Regions from separate parts of the Homo sapiens genome. Here all the other regions are linked to region 5. The links are contacts of gene promoters, found by promoter capture Hi-C in blood cells and fetal thymus (Javierre and others, 2016). All regions are on one chromosome and are shown on one strand. Each heading gives the region's core, a stretch centred on a gene start or on the middle of the fragment in contact. The rest is flanking DNA. Distances are from core to core; before and after follow the strand shown.

The links. The method cuts DNA at HindIII sites, captures the fragments that hold promoters and counts their contacts. A CHiCAGO score of 5 or more calls a contact.
Region 1: a contact is called between a fragment that was not itself captured here and the fragment with the promoter of H4C3 in region 5, in 3 of 17 cell types (total CD4 T cells, activated CD4 T cells and monocytes). The highest score is 6.8, in total CD4 T cells.
Region 2: a contact is called between a fragment that was not itself captured here and the fragment with the promoter of H4C3 in region 5, in 2 of 17 cell types (fetal thymus and total B cells). The highest score is 7.1, in fetal thymus.
Region 3: a fragment that was not itself captured here is called in contact with the fragment with the promoter of H4C3 in region 5 in 15 of 17 cell types (total B cells, activated CD4 T cells, naive B cells and 12 more); the score reaches 13.8 in total B cells.
Region 4: a fragment that was not itself captured here is called in contact with the fragment with the promoter of H4C3 in region 5 in 2 of 17 cell types (non-activated CD4 T cells and monocytes); the score reaches 6.4 in non-activated CD4 T cells.
Region 6: a fragment that was not itself captured here is called in contact with the fragment with the promoter of H4C3 in region 5 in 1 of 17 cell types (monocytes); the score reaches 5.2 in monocytes.

Annotation. Positions count from the first base shown.
Region 1 is chr6:27,476,960-27,479,659 of GRCh38, forward strand. TRS-AGA2-2 (tRNA-Ser (anticodon AGA) 2-2) reads left to right here and starts at 1,853; the gene lies at 1,853-1,934. The HindIII fragment of the contact is 1,893 bases long and covers 397-2,289 here.
Region 2 is chr6:27,798,396-27,801,095 of GRCh38, forward strand. No RefSeq gene overlaps it. Among named protein-coding and RNA genes, the nearest start is that of TRQ-TTG3-3, 3.8 kb to the left of the region's middle. The HindIII fragment of the contact is 618 bases long and covers 1,126-1,743 here.
Region 3 is chr6:27,137,151-27,139,850 of GRCh38, forward strand. It overlaps H4C9 (H4 clustered histone 9), which reads left to right and starts at 2,132. Exons shown (of 1, transcript NM_003495.3): 1 at 2,132-2,528. The coding sequence starts at 2,159. The coding sequence ends at 2,470. It also overlaps a transcript of H2BC12 not described here. RefSeq lists enhancers at 1,946-2,325, 2,088-2,680, 2,681-2,700. The HindIII fragment of the contact is 264 bases long and covers 1,225-1,488 here.
Region 4 is chr6:27,756,784-27,759,483 of GRCh38, forward strand. No RefSeq gene overlaps it. Among named protein-coding and RNA genes, the nearest start is that of TRV-AAC1-5, 4.7 kb to the left of the region's middle. The HindIII fragment of the contact is 2,133 bases long and covers 188-2,320 here.
Region 5 is chr6:26,102,569-26,105,268 of GRCh38, forward strand. H4C3 (H4 clustered histone 3) reads left to right here and starts at 1,365. Exons shown (of 1, transcript NM_003542.4): 1 at 1,365-1,769. The coding sequence starts at 1,380. The coding sequence ends at 1,691. RefSeq lists enhancers at 903-1,012, 1,037-1,727. The HindIII fragment of the contact is 10,429 bases long and covers 1-2,700 here.
Region 6 is chr6:27,779,033-27,781,732 of GRCh38, forward strand. It overlaps the pseudogene RSL24D1P1. Among named protein-coding and RNA genes, the nearest start is that of TRQ-CTG6-1, 11 kb to the right of the region's middle. The HindIII fragment of the contact is 1,462 bases long and covers 654-2,115 here.

The DNA of each region.
Region 1 (2,700 bases), core at 93-2,592, 1.4 Mb after region 5:
CAACTTATATTTGTATGGACACCTGGCTACCCCATCAAACTGCTTCATGTCTATTCCCTCAAATTATGGTCTTCCATAAAACTAGTGAATTTCTTTTAGTCTTCTTTTGAGCCTGTAGGGGTGAGAGAATCTTTTTTCTCCCTTCTGGAGGTTGGATATTTGAGTCTGAGAAATAAAGCTGCTAGTAGACAGATTAACAGAAGAAAAGGCATACACATTTATTATGCACATATGCACAGAGGTCCCAGAAAGTGTAAGTGAGACTCAAAGAAGGGGCAGATGGTTGAAGCTTAAATAGGACTTGGAGCTACATAAAGAAATAGGAGCTTGAAGGCTCCTGGAAGGTGGTGGCGAGAAGCAATGTGAGGGTCAGGGCAGGAACAGCTCTGGGAACAAAGCTTGTCTTATTATACAGATAAAGTCTCTCAAGTAGCAGCCCTCAGAATAGGTGGTGAAGAAAAGAATTGAAGTCTGGCTGGGCGAGATGTCCCGGGCATGGAGACCTTTAGTTTTCTCTCCTGGGATCTGAGTTAATCTTCTCTGGTTAATACAGATTCCAGGAGAGGGTTCATGACAATCTCTTTCCTTCTGGAGGAACCTCCGTAAGTCAAATAAGGGAAACTTCAGTGAAAGCCCCTCCCTGCCATTCAAGAAAGAAAGAGGATCAGGAGGCAGTGGGGCTGCGGAAGGTCAGAGAGACTTTGATTCTGAGGTTGCTTCTTTAGTTCAAAGTACTCAGCACTTCCAAGAGCCATACTTTGGGGTATCATTTTCTGAGCTCTAACAAGGGTCCTCAGAAAATCTCTGTCTCTTCCCTTCCCGGTCTTCCTTCGTTTCTCCTCTTCCTCTTCCTCCTCTTCTTTCTCCTTCATCCTCTTCTTTCTACCTCCTGTCCCTCCTTCCTTTCTCTCTTCTCCTTTCTGGTCACTTTCTTCTTTTCCTCTTCCTTCTTGTCCCTCTTCCTCATTTATCTACTTAGTCGACATGATTTCTTAGCTTGCGATTGTTTCCCTCTTTTCTTAGATTAGTATATGGTTCCAAGAAGTAGATGAAAGCCAATTACAATAATCTGTGCATCCAAAGGGCTCAGGGAAACTCCAGGACCGGCAGCTTTAGACTTCAAGACGGAAGCATAAGAGGAAAAGAAAACATACTGCGTGGGTTAGATTTTGAGAGAAGGAGCGTCTGCCTTGGCCAAAAATCAAAGTAGGATCTTCCTTTTGATAGGTAACCTGGTTCCATGGGAACTCATGAACAATCTATAAATTTCTTTCTTAACCCAACTGAAGCGTGGAAGCGCATTGTGAAATGCAAAATGCCGTGCAAACGAGACCGGGTAGATATACTCCCTTGGGTTGGTGTGAGCCTAGAGACTTAGGGACCTCATCAGAGCAAGAAAGTGCAAGTAGGCTTTTCTGCATCATTTTCTGGCCCTCCAGTTCAGACACAAATCAAAAGTTAGTCCCTTCTTGAAAGCCATTAGCATTCATCAAGGAGCCTCAATGAGAGGAAGTTTCAAACAAAAACTAAATGTGTCAGGCCCAGATTTACGGTGAGGGTCTGATTCCACTTCCTTGCGGGGTCAGTTTGGGTCCAGGTGAGAGAGGTACAGTGGTCTCTAGTTTTCTGGAAACGGTACTGCTGATAGGGCAAGGACTCCTTGCGGCTGCCCCAGAGAGGTTGGCTTGTCTTATCCAACTTGCACTTCACGTTAGAGTTTCTAATGAACTCGCAGACTCCAGTTTCTTGCCCAGGAAACCATTTTTACCGTATTTTGTTCTTTTGACCGTTTCTTGTCAGTTAGCTGGTGTAAATTCTGTTTAAAGATGTGAAGGGAGCCTTCTCCATTCGTGTAGTCGTGGCCGAGTGGTTAAGGCGATGGACTAGAAATCCATTGGGGTCTCCCCGCGCAGGTTCGAATCCTGCCGACTACGGGATGTTTTACTGAGAACAGTTCAGCGAGGAAATAGGATCTCACATTTGCTTTCAGTTTGGGAGTAAAGAAACTCGTGATAGAGCCTCTGCGTGTCACCTAACATAGCCTGAACTTTTGCCGACTTCGGGATGTTTTACTGAGAACAGTTCAGAGAGGAAATACGATGTCATATTTGCTTTCAGTTTGGGAGTAAAGGAACTCGTAATAGAGCTTCTGCGTGCCACTTAACGCAGCCTGAACTTTTGCCGACTTCGGGATGTTTTACTGAGAACAGAGAGGAATCGTATTTACTTCAGAGAGGAAATACGATGTCATATTTGCTTTCAGTTTGGGGGCGAGGGAACTCGTGATAAAGCTTCTGCGTGCCACTTGACGCATCCTGAACTTTAAAAATACATCTGCAGACTCTTTATCTATTTTACCTCAACGGAGCGCAGGTATTGGTCCCACCTCTGCTTTTCCTGTCTTTGAAACCAACCGATGCACCTTTCGGGATTTGTAACTCCTATGTTAGCTAGGGCTCCAACCATGGTTGAACATAGACGGAAACCAGTGCGTCACAAAGGAGGCTAGCGAGAGTTCTTTTTTAAAAGGGTCTGACAAAGCGTCCGAGGAATGAAGGAGGAACTGGAGAGGATTCGCGGTTGGGCGGAGACACGTTCGCTGAATTGCCTTGCGTATATTTGGTAGGGGAAACGTGTGACTACAGAGCAAAGAAAGATGGACAATAGCGAGTAACTTCACAGGGATTTCCTAAGAGCTCC
Region 2 (2,700 bases), core at 185-2,684, 1.7 Mb after region 5:
ATAGTTCCTTCTGCCCCAAACAGCTTCCCCCAGGTAGCAATATACTCTCTCACCAGTTTATGCCAATGACAGTTCAATGAGACCTCATTTGTATGCCCTCCTTAAAAATGCAATCTCCAGCTCCCTATCCCCTTTCCTGCTGTATTTTTATCTAAACCACTTATCAAGGTGATGACATGTTATGGAATTTAATCCCACCTCAAAGTACCATAAGAACAGGAATTTTAGCAGGCTATTTTCAGCGTGTATTCTCAATGCTAATATATTGTCTCTCATATATTAAGTGCTCAATAAATGTTTTTTTGGTTAAGTAAGTTAATTTCCTTTAAGCTGGCTGATGGGGTCATATAGAGGTAAAATTACTGGCTCTGAGTGATTTTCCTCACTTATAAATATAATTTGCAGTAATTTCTATATTATTCTTTTCCTCTTAATGCATGGTGATAATTATTTCCCTGTTACATATGTCTTTTTTGTTTGTTTGTTTGTTTGTTTGAGACAGAGCCTCGCTCTGTTTCCCAGGCTGGAGTTCAGTGGCGCAGTCTTGGCTCACTGCAACCTCTGCCTCCCGGGTTCAAGTGATTCTCCTGCCTTAGCCTTCTGAGTAGCTGGGATTACAGGCATGTGCCACCATGCCCAGCTAATTTTTGTAATTTTAGTAGAGACGAGGTTTCACCATGTTGGCCAGGCTGGTCCTGAACTCCTGACCTCAAGTGATCTGCCCACCTCGGCCTCCCAAAGTACTGGGATTACGGGCATGAGCCACCATGCCTGTCCTACATATATCTTATTCATTGTCTTATTCAATCATACAACTTCCTGATAAAATGAGGCTGATTTTCACCCCTATTTTGCTGTTAAGGAAACTGGTATAATGAGTGTCACTGACTTGTTTGTGATCACACAGTGGACAAAATGGCATTTGTTTCTTTGTGGTGATCTCACAAAGGTCAAGATGACCTTAGATCCTCAGTTTTGGCTGTTTTTTTTTTGTTGTTTTTTTGTTTGTTTGTTTGTTTTACACCAAGGAACCAGGTTCTAGCTCCTATGTTTGTTCATTGCATGGAAAGGAACAGGAAGATCTGGGGGCCACTGAATGGAAGGTTAGATCCATTTTCTTGGTTAAGCTTGTAGGTTTTCTCGTCTCTTTTCCTTCCTGCAGCACAATTCTTATGAATGGCAATATCTTCTATTAAAATTCTCAGTCTGTAGTCTTCTTGTCCATACAGAAAATAGATTTCAGGTCAACACATTTGATAGTCTGGACTGTGCTAACTGCTCCAATATTTGAGTACATCTTTTGGGGATGTGGGAATTTAGTGTTGTAGGCCTCAAGTGGGGTTCGTTCCCAGAATTTGGAGAGGCTATAGAAATATAACCTGGTTGGCCAGGCACGGTGACTCATGCCTGTAACCCCATCAATGTGGGAGGCCGAGGCAGGTGGATCACCTGAGGTCAGGAGTTCGGGACCAGCCTGGCCAACATGGAGAAACCCTGTCTCTACTAAAAACTTTTAAAAAATTAGGCGGGCGTGGTGGTACGTGCCTGTAATCCCAGCTACTTGGGAGGCTGAAGTAGGAGAATCCCTTGAACCCGGGAGGTGGAGGTTGCAGTGAGCTGAGATCACACCATTGCACTCCAGGGCAACAGAGTGAGACTCCATCTCAAAAAAAAAAAAAAAAGAAAAAGAAATATAACCTGGCCATAATATAAGCATAAATAAAATAGATGACATTCTTTCAAAGCTTTTCTTAGCCTCTTATGTTTCTCAGATATTAAATAATCGGGCCAGGCACAGTGGCTCACGCCTGTAATCCTAGCACTTTGGGAGGCCGAGGCGGGCAGATTAACTGAGGTCAGGAGTTCAAGACCAGCCTGGCCAACATGGTGAAACTCCATCTCTACTAAAAACACAAAAAATTAGCCAGGTGCAGTGGCACGCGCCTGTAATCCCAGCTACTCGGGAGGCTGAGGCAGGAGAATCGCTTGAACCTGGGAGGTGGAGGTTGTGGTGAGCAGAGATCGTGCCACTGCACTCCAGCCTGGGCGACAGAACGAGACTTCATCTCAAATAAAAATTTAAAAAAAAAATAGTCAAATGCAAAATAAAGTAACATTCCAGCAATTTAATGACAGATATTGAAGCCACCTTTGCAAAATTATGACTGAGACAGAGAAAGAGATGGAATTTAACCAACTCCGTCTTGCTTCTAACCTCCAAGCCATCCTTGTTCATTCCTGGGTGTAGGCTGAACTAATTTAGGGAGAAACTTAGTTTGTAGTTTATAGTTTAAACAAAGATGGTAACAGCCCTTTCCCAAAGCAGACCTCCTTCTTGCCTTGGGACTGGATTGCCTTTGTAGGACTAACATTAGCCACAAGATTAAAAATTATGGCAGCTGGAGGCTACAAGATTCTAACCCTCCCTAACTGCTCCTAAGATCAGTGCTTGAGATATTTTGCAGACGCTGCACTCAAGATGGGTCAGATAGCACCACCCAGATCTATTAACTGGCTCATCTGATCCTGTAGCCCCCACCCAGGAACTGACTCAGCACAAGAAGAGAGCTTCAACTCCCTATGATTTAATCTCTGACCATTCAGCACTCCTGGCTCACTGGCTTCCCCCCATCCACCAAGTTATCCTTAAAAACTCTGCTCCCCAAATGCCCAGGGAAACTGATTTGAGTAATAAAACTC
Region 3 (2,700 bases), core at 107-2,606, 1.0 Mb after region 5:
TACCATTCATTGCTATCCTTGTCACTAATTGCTATGCGAAAACTCATGAAATCAGATACAGAAAAAGGCTTCTGATTAGTGAGAAGCTCAAGTAGAGAAATATACTTGTTAACTAATGTTGGGGAAATACAATTTTAAAATCTTCTCCCAAAGAAGACAAAGGAAATAATTTTATTATTGAATAAGCATTAAACCAGGGAGAGTTGCTTATCACAGGAAACCTTATGAAGAGGTTGCAAAAGCAGAAAGAAATCTTGCTTATTATGTATGGCTACATTGGATAGGTTTTGCAATTCGAAGTCAGGTGACAGCTAAAGTTCAGCCCATTTTCTCGCTGGAAACTGGGAGACAGACCACTATCTTTTTTAATGATTAACATTTCAAAGGGATGGCTCTCCAGGCATTGAGAAAATATTCTGAGTTATAAGGCCTATTTAGCCATTAAAAGGATTTACATACATTTTAAAAGGACAGAGAAAGACATTTTGAAAGTGATGGGAAAGGAAAGGGAAGTCTTTTGTTTTCAACAGATAATTAAGCCTCTCATTTTTAATTTGTATTTACCCTTAGATTAACGTATTCAATTAACCTATGCTACCTTACCCTCTTTACAACATATACTGAATTCAGCTACAGCAAGTTACAGCCAGTCATATCAATTTTTTTTTGTTTTCCAAAGGTGTATGGCAAGTTTTCTTTTATTGCAACATAAATGCAAAAATTTCTAAAGTATTTTAATGAAAAGTTTATCTTCATTTACTTTATGACATTTAAGTGGAATACTTTGAAAATACTTCAAGCACTGCTGTAAGGTACTCATTAAAATAAAGAGTAGCAAGAAAATCACCAAATGGGCCGGGTGCGGTGGCTCATATATTCAGTATATGATAATAAGTTCCTCAAATCAGTGGGGGAAATAGTTAATGTATTGTGCTGACTAACCAACTGATTAACTTTTTGAAAAGTTATTTCTATATACAAGAAATCAAGTCCTTATTAGTAAAGTTAGATTACTTTAAATGGTTCTACCCAGCATTAGTTAAGGTTGTAGGCATATCAGGAACTGCTACTGGTGCAGGGGCCAAGAGAAAACCTCCCTTTTGGCCTCTGAAAGTTCACTGAAAATCAACTGACAAGATTAATAAGAGAAAAGGCATACAAATTTATTAAGGTACAGGGCTGAGGACCACAGAATATTACCCCAACCCCCCAGTGGGGTACAGAAGCTTATATACTCTTTCTCAGAGGCAAAAGAGGAGATGGGTAATGTAGACAATTCTTTGAGGAACAGTAAATGATTATTAGAGAGAAGGAATGGACCAAGGAGACAGAAATTAACTTGTAAATGATTCTCTTTGGAATCTGAATGAGATCAAGAGGCCAGCTTTAGCTTGTGGAAAAGTCCATCTAGGTATGGTTGCATTCTCGTCTTCTTTTCTGCAGTAGATAATGAGGTAACCGAAGGCAATTGTGCTTCTTTTGATAAGAAGCTTTCTTGGTCATATCAGGAAATTCCAGAGAAAGTCCCTCCCTGTATTTGGGGAAGAGAAACAGGACAAAGTTAGAGGGACCTTGATTCTTAGACTTGTTTCTGAGAACCCTCAATTTTCAAAAACACCCACCATTACCAAGCTCGATATTTGGGGGGATAATTCTCCACCCCAAACACTAGAAATGAAAATAAGTAGAAAAGAACTTAGCAATATACCTGAACGATCTTTAAATTCTATGAGTCTATCTTGTTCTATTGCTAGGAATTTAGCATATGGAGTATATTTCCATTGTATATTAAGGAGAAAAATGCCACAAAATAGCATAGTTCCATACAAATAATGTTAAAGGAAAACATGCATATATGCAGAGATAACATTCTTTTTGCTTTATGTATCTTCTATAATGTTAACATTTTTGTTATGAGGCAGGAATCATGTTAAATGAAAAAAGGAAAAACAGCCTAGGTCTTGAGGATTAAAAAGGACTGAAGGAGAACAAGAGGGAGTAGAGCACAGCAGGCCTGTTTCCCTTTTAGGTCCCCTCCCCCAATGCAGAGGGACTTCCCGCCAAAGCTCTTCCGGTTTTCAGTCTGGTCCGCAGAGGTTACCCATAAAAGAAAGCTGCCATCACAGGCAGCAGACCTTTGTTCTCTGACCACTTGATAATGTCAGGACGCGGCAAAGGAGGTAAGGGCCTGGGGAAAGGGGGTGCCAAGCGCCACCGCAAGGTGCTGCGCGACAACATCCAGGGTATCACCAAGCCAGCCATTCGGCGCCTTGCTCGCCGCGGCGGCGTGAAGCGCATTTCTGGCCTCATCTATGAGGAGACCCGCGGAGTGTTGAAGGTGTTCCTGGAGAACGTGATCCGGGACGCCGTGACCTACACGGAGCACGCCAAGCGCAAGACGGTCACCGCCATGGACGTGGTCTACGCGCTCAAGCGCCAGGGCCGCACCCTCTATGGCTTCGGCGGCTAAATGGCATTTTGAAGCCCAGTCATTCTCTAAAAAGGCCCTTTTTAGGGCCCCTAAGCTTTCAACAAAAGAGTTGAAATGACTGCAAACTGAGTCTCTTAATAGGGCCATTGTCAGTGAGTTCTGTCATCCTATTTTACAAGATTAACTCGACGCCGAAAATGGGCTGATGACTACAGGTGACCTTGGGCCGAGATTTTTCCAAGGCCAGAAGAGCCTCTGCTGGCCAGTAA
Region 4 (2,700 bases), core at 4-2,503, 1.7 Mb after region 5:
CCCTCAGATCAGTAAAGAAGACCAGCCCTAAGCTGCTGACCACAGGTTCATGGGACTCTTCTGAGGGAATGTGAGGCCCAGAACTTACGCTAGTGATTCTCCAGGTGGACTATTCCTAAGATTCCTTGCCATACCCCCTTCTAGTGCAGAGGGTCTCTGGTATGGCCCACAAGTCTTAATTTTTAGAAGCTTCCAGGTGATTCAGAAGCTGAGGACCTTTGGGAAGATTTTGACAATCCTTTCATTAATGACAAATTTGTTTCATCTTAAAAAACAAAACTTCATCCTTGTATGTGTGGAGGAGGACACTATAGTGAAATTAAAGAAAAAAAAAGTCAAATTATCTGCTCCCTCCATCTACCTGAGGTTTTCTTGCTTGGCATTTGCAAAGAAATTGGGCGCATGGGTGAATACTTTGATTGCTATAAAGAGTAGAGTTTGGCCGTTGATTTTAGTACACTAAAAGTGCAAGGGCAAGAAACATACCAGCACCTTGACAGTTTCTGGGAAGAAACTTAACGGCACCTTCTGGACCCAATCTGCGTGGCGCAGTGGCCTAAAGAGGCGACCGAACCTGCATCCCTAGCTCCGCCTTCCCGGTCCCTGCACACCCCGGCAGCTTCCGCGCGATTCTTCCCGCCCCCGACACCCGCCGCCACACAAAGGCGCTGCGTCCTGGCGGCCAGCGGGGGCTTAGTCTAGGCCCGGCAGGGTTTTCTGGAAGACCAGAGGGCCACCAGGTCACCGAGGTGGGAAGTGAAGAGAGGTTCGACGCTGCCTCAGGCCTGGGCCTGGCCGGTGGGAGACACAGCAAGGACTCTGGGAGCCTGCAGAGCAGAGGCCGCCGCGGGGCCGGGCCCCCGTCTCCTCCTCAGGTCCAAGACCAGAGGGTCTGCAGGGCCCCAGAGCAGCTGGCCGCGCTCCGCTTCCCACCGCGCTCTCTGCTGGAACTCATGTGGTTGTTTATCCTTATTTTGCTAAATTTCTTTATTTGCTGTAACAGTTTGTGTGTGTGTGTGTTTGAGTGTGTGTGTGTAATTTTCAGGGTTTTCTATATATAAAAATCATGTCACGGCCAGGCTTGGTGGCTCACACCTGTAATCCCAGCACTTTGGGAGGCCAAGGTAGGAGGATCGCCTGAGCCCAGGAGTTCGAGACCAGCCTGGGCAACACGGGCAACATAGCGAGACCCTAGTCTCTAAAATTTTTTTTATTAGCCGGGCATGGTGGCAGGCGCCTGTGGTCCCAGTTACTCCGGAGGATGAGGCAGGGTAATCGCTTGAACCAGGGAAGTCGAGGCTTCAGTGAGGCATAATTGCTCTGCTGCATCCCAGCCTGGGTGACAAAGAGAGATCCCATCTCTCTCTCAAAAAAAAGTCATGTTATCTGTGAACATAGATAATTTTACTTTTTCCTTGCCAATACTGTGCTGAATAACATGGTGAAAGTGGGCACCCATTATTCCTGATTGTAGGAGAAAAATTTTCAGTCTTTCGCTGTTGAGAATGATATTAGTTGTATGTTTTTCATAATTGGGCATTATCAAGTTGAGGAAGTTTCCTTCTATTCCTGGTTTACATTGTGTGTGTGTGTGTGTTTTGTTTGTTTGTTTTGACAGAGTCTTGCTCTGTCACCCAAGCTGGAGTGCAGTGGCCGCGATCTCGGCTCACTACAGCTTAGACCTCCAGGGCTCAAGCAATCCTTCGACTTCAGCCTGCCAAGTAGCTAGGACCATAGGCGTACAGCACCACATTTAGAAGTCCCTGAGAAAATTATCTTGGAGGAAAACTCGCAAGTCCGACTATTGGTTTTCCAAGGAAGCCAGTCTCGCCTGTGAGGAGGGATCCTGCTCGCCCTGGGAGCCTACTCAGACACCATGGGGAATGGGGGGTGGGGCTCAGAGCGCGCAGGCTTGGTTTTTTTCCCCCTCCGAACTCCTGAGTTCCAGTGATCTGCCTGACTCAGCCTCCCACAGTGCTGGGATTACAAGTGTGAGCCACTGCGCCTGGCCTATTACTTGTTTTAATAATAACAAAAAACAGCAAAATCTTGCAGAAGGTTGGAAGGTAACCAAGCAGCTTAGCTTCAAACCACGTTTTAAAAACTTTGTTTCTTTTCTTCTTTCTCCCCAGTTTCTAGACATAGCTTTGAGACAAACTGCAGATGTGCTTTCTTTTGTCGTCAATTACTGCCTTGGAATGGGCATTAAAACTGCCTTCCCTTTCGCATCTTATGCCCCCATGCCTTATGCTCATTTATTTACCTGGATGCTTGTTAAGCTCATACCATGCCCACTTATCTGGTCATATATTTCCTTAGAAGCTTCAGGGGCTGAATCCTGATGCAGACCAGACATCTCCAGAATTCTCTCTCCAGTAGGAGATTAATTCAAGGACAATATTCACTCTTGGCTAGAGATTATCTGCAAGATTGACTGTCATTAATTTGTAACTTGATTGGGCCTACAATGTCACTGGCCCCTTCACCAGGTGAAACAATAATTCAAGATAAGCCATCAGAATGAGACACCCACTGGGCACCTCCTGCCTCTTGCCCCTCTGCATTACAAGCTCCTCTCCTTGAAATGCTTGGCCTCTCTCCAGAAATTGGAGAGTGGCAAATTTTGGCCAGCCACTCTCCCCATTGCTAGCATGGATAATAAAACTTACTCTATTTTTAATTACACCTCATTCCTTTTTT
Region 5 (2,700 bases), core at 115-2,614:
GCATTTTTTCTCTGTAATGTTTGACATTTCTTCCTAGCTAAGTCTCTAGTTATAAGGTCTGTGTTGTGGCATGTGGACAGTGAGTGGAAGAACCTAAGAACTCAATTTGGGGCAGAAGAATGTAATCAATTATTTCAGAAGTGATACAAACAATATGACATGTAGAGCATTCTGGCCTTTCCTGGGTCTTTTTTCTCCATTCCTGGATTTCTTCTCTTCATGTGAGCAAGTCTGAGGTTACTATATAATGTCTCTCACAGGCCACAGCCCCATTCTAAATATTCCCAATAGAAATTCATTTATTAACCAGAGAGTGGTGGGTGGGGTTGTTTTTGTTTTTTAAACAAAAGTGGATCTTATGGGCATTCTGGAAAGCTCCCGCAGGAAGCTAAGAATAAAATTTTGAATTGAGAAGTCCCTTTCTTCAAACCACATTCAGACCCAATTCTGCTATTCTATTTATTTTTCAAGGGGATTAGCCTTATTTTAACACCAATAATCTTATCACAAAAACCTCCCAGAGGAAGACCCTGTAGATTTTGTAATGACCTTAATCAAGTATTAGCCCTACACTTCAATTAATCCCCAACTGTACAAAACGAATGTTCTTTTCTCTAAAGCTGTAGCAAGTTGAAAGGGGATTAAAAACGGAGGGAAGGGAAGAGTGTTTGGAATTTCAGGCACAGCAAACAGGCACAGCAGACCAGGAAGAGCGTCCCGGGAAAACATATTATCCAGACTTAAGTTTATATTCCCTGTCTCTCTCAGACTTTTGCAGAAAAATGAGTCATTCAACAAATATTTGAATCGAGATAGGGAAAGTGACGAGGAAGAAGTTTGCACTTATGAGGTTTTAATTTGCAATTATTTGGCTACCTTTTTGCCTTCCCAAAACATAGGGTCTTTAGGAGTGAAACTTCATAGCCAAACTTATACCTTGTCCAGCACAGAGAAGGCCATCAAAATGCCTGGTTTAAATAAAAATATTAAAATGATTGGGAGGGTAAATCCCTTGACCTATAAATCTGACCTCCTTTAAACATTATTTGTATGTTCCCCAATAAACTATTCCGTAATTTATTAGTTAGCAAGTGGAAATAAAAAGAAATGTGGAATGGGGCTATGCTTAGCGTCATTAAGCTGACAGGAATACAGCGCATTCAACTTGCAAACACCCTTCCACTCCCACAAAGAGCAAGCTGTCACTGGCCAATCAAAACAATGAACCATAATGAAACAGTTTTTCTTGCTCCACCCACTTGGTGACCAAATTTGAAAAAAAAAAAAAACCGCGCCAACTCATGTTGTTTTCAATCAGGTCCGCCAAGTTTGTATTTAAGGAACTGTTTCAGTTCATACCTTCCACTGCGATAGGAATCATGTCTGGTCGCGGCAAAGGCGGAAAAGGCTTGGGGAAGGGTGGTGCTAAGCGCCATCGTAAGGTGCTCCGGGATAACATCCAGGGCATTACAAAACCGGCTATTCGCCGTTTGGCTCGGCGCGGTGGCGTCAAGCGCATTTCCGGTCTTATCTATGAGGAGACTCGAGGTGTGCTTAAGGTTTTCTTAGAGAACGTTATTCGAGACGCCGTCACCTATACGGAGCACGCCAAGCGCAAAACTGTCACAGCCATGGATGTAGTATATGCCCTAAAACGTCAGGGGCGCACTCTGTATGGCTTCGGCGGCTGAATCTAAGAATACGCGGTCTCCTGAGAACTTCAAAAAACAAAAACAAAAAAACCCAAAGGCCCTTTTCAGGGCCGCTCACAAAGTCGTTTAAAGAGCTGAAATGCGTTGCGAGAATGAGTTTGGATGACAGAAATAACCGTGACATCCTGCATAAGAATGAATTGTGTTTGCCATGACCGGCCACACTGTGACAAAATTTCAAAGCATAAAGTAGGCATAGAGAGGTAAGCGCTAATAAAGTGATTGGCTCCACAAAAAGCATTTTGCTGGGCGCAGTGGCTCACGACTGTAATCCCAGCACTTTGGGAGGCCAAAGCTAGTGTATCACTTGAGATCAAGAATCCGAGACCAGCCTGGCCAAAATGGTGAAACCCCCTCTACCAAAAAAAATACAAAACTTAGCCGGGCGTGGTGGTCTGCACCTGTAGGCCCAGCTAGCCCGGAAGCAGAGATTGCAGTGAGCCGAGATCGCGCCACTCCCCTCCAGCCTGGGAGACAGAGAGAGACTCCTCAAAAAAAAAAAAAAAAAAAAAAAAAAAAATTATGTATTTTAGAGCATTCTAAGAATGGTACTTTGGACTTAACCGAAGGGCTGGAGGCGCGTGTTGAACAAAGGTTATCACCTTTTGGCTCATGCGGCACACAGCTATGTAAATAAAGCATCTTTAGGGACAAGCTCTCATTTGCGGAGGGTTCTATGGCTGTTGTCCTATTGGCCAAAACAAAGTGGTCTAAGTCCGGGCGCGGTGGCTCACGCCTGTATTCCCAGCAGTTTGGTAGGCCAAGGTGGGTGGATCACGAGGTCTGGCGTTCAAGACCAGCCTGGCCAAGATGGTGAAACCCCGTCTACTAAAAATACAAAAATTAGCCGGGCGTGGTGGCGGGCACCTGTAATCCCAGCTACGTGGGAGGCTGAGCCAGAGAACTGCTTGAACCCAGGAGGCAGAGGTTGCAGTGAACCGAGATTGTGCCACTGCACTCTAGCCTGGGTGACAGAGCGAGGCTCCAT
Region 6 (2,700 bases), core at 135-2,634, 1.7 Mb after region 5:
CTTGGGGGAAATGGAGTGTAAGGGACATGGGACGCCACTTCTCTGAGTTTACCTTTTGTTATACCTTTAACTTTTGAAAGCATGTGAATGTTTTACTTTTTTTTTTTTTAACGGAAGAGGTTCTCTGTGTGAACATGTTGACTAAATACAAAAGGGTTATAAAAGGTCTTTGCTTCTTTAAAATTTCTGAGTCATCGTTTTGGCAAAATAAATAACTTATAGCAATCTGGAATTCCCAAAATCAAACATCGGTTTCAAAAATCTCTTCCCTGGCACCTGGCTTTTTGAATACTTCAGCGGGCCCCTGAAGTGTCCAGAAAAGACAGGTAAACAGGATTATTTGACACGTTTAGGTACATGGGATTGCCAAAATGATGCTCAATCTTCTTTAGGCTATATTTTTGTGAATAATACTAATATATATTTCAAAATTGTATGGGATTTCTAAAATAGTATAAGCTATTAATTATAGTTATGTTAAGTTATTGTAAACTGCAGAAACAACCAAATTTTCTTGTATAAAGCTACTAACCCAAGTAAAACAAAAACTTAATTAAATATCAAGAAAATAATTTCATGTTAAACCAGCTAATACTGAAATTGTTTAAAATAGTTTATAACCAATGCTTGATGCCATATTCCTGGGAAAACAAAGCTTCAGATATGTTTGGTCACGTGGTCGCCCATTTAAACATTTTATAAAGGAATTTTATTCATTTGTTATTTTCTTTTTCTGTTTATTTTTTCTTTTTAAATGGTTTCATTTTATGTGCAAATAATGAACAGATGTTATACTCATAAATTCTACTTTCCAAAAACAGGAGCTTTTTAAAAGAAAACCATATAATAACTTTTAAAAGGCACTGGGATTCCTCTGCTTCTAGAACATTGCTAGGCTAGAAAAATAAAGTTTGTTCTACCAGCAGTCACAAGTTAGAACTGAGTATTCTCCAAAATGGAAATTCTAGAGTGTAGTGTCACTCCAGGCAAAGATTATTCAGTTCTCATCCCCAATATCCACAACTACCTATCAGAAGGGTTAAACCAGGTCAAAACAGTCCAGAATAATTAGGCTTCATCAAACAATGTCATTGTGCTCTTCTAAGATACAAATAAACCAAAACAGGAAATACTAAAATCAAAATAACATTTGACACTGTTATACAAATTGTTAGTTCCTTGTTGTATCCCCCCTTCTGTAACGTTAATAAACGGAATATTTTATTGCAAAGAATATTTTATTTTATACATCACTAGCCATGAATTTTTGCCATTAGTTGTTATACAAATGCTGCCTAGTGCCATTATCCAAATAGCATAACCATTTTACATCCACAATTCACTTCTATAGTTAGAAGTAGAATTTTCATGATTTACATACGTACATCTATCAGTGAAGATTTAACACTGAGATGCAATCTAACATTCGTAATATCTGATGTTTTGCAGATGTCAATGTAGGAAAGATATGTTTTAATCACTTTTCATTTAAGTGACCTTATGTAAAAAATAAACTAATAATTTAGCAGTTCCAAGTCTGTAAAGGACATTTTCAAATGTACATAAAAGAAATGGTTACAGAGATTTTTAAGATGTGTTTTCCATGCCTACATGCTCTTGTAACTGCTGTACCATTTTCTCTTCCAGCTGCTTCTCTTTGCCTGCAAGAGGGGCTTGAATAAGATGGATGTTTTGCTTGACTTCTTTGATATCCTGAACTTTCTGTAGCTCTTTATTTTTATTCAGTCTGTTCATTATAAATTTAGCTTGGCATTTCTGTTTGATTTCTTCAATTTGCTTCATTGCATCAATAGTTTTATTCCATAGCTCTCGCTGGTATTTGATAGGTTCATTTCTACGTTTTTCAAATTCAAATGAATTATCCACTGTAAGCTCTTTACCAGCTGCATTCTGGAATGCTTTGATCCACCTAGCTTTGCGAGGACTGCACTTCTTTTAAAAGTTTTTATGACATTTAGATTTACAAAATCTGAACAACTTGCAATTGTTGTGGACGAACATCATGCCGTGACCAGGGTAGATGGGCCCTGAACAGAAATAACACTTCTCAATACACATGTTGAACCCACGTGGGTCCCCACCAAGCAAACACCAAGCTTGAGAGCTCATTTGTTATTTTCAGTGCATGTTTTCTGGTTGTATAAAAGGTTTCCTATGCAAGAGGGCTGATGTTATAACAGTAGATTACTACAGTGTATTTTCAACAGGCAAAGAAAGCTTTTTATGATTTGAATCTTCTAGAAGCATCAGAGAAAGACTGTTCTTGCCATTCACACTACAACAAAACTTTGGGATCTTGAACTTTGAGTTCATAATCTCACAACTGAGAAGGGTCCCTCCAAGCTCTTGGAGCTGTGTGCCCACTGGAACCCTTAAGGTAAAATTAACCAAAGAAATTTCTCCCAAGAGGAGAATGGCATCCTTACTATGAACAGCTTTTCTCACGTTCACAGATTAAGACTTCTACTGTCGTGAAACTTATCTTCGAATATTTTTTGTTGCTTATGCCTCTACAAAAAAATAGAAGTGGAAAAGGTGTCTGTTATGTGCACTTATGGTGTATACTCTTACTTGCGAAGGAGTTTGTAACCAGCTTTTTAAATGGGTAAACTTATACTTTGATAGATAAAAGATGAAGGCCCAATGTAGGTAAGAAACTTTAAAGGTACATGCTTTGCC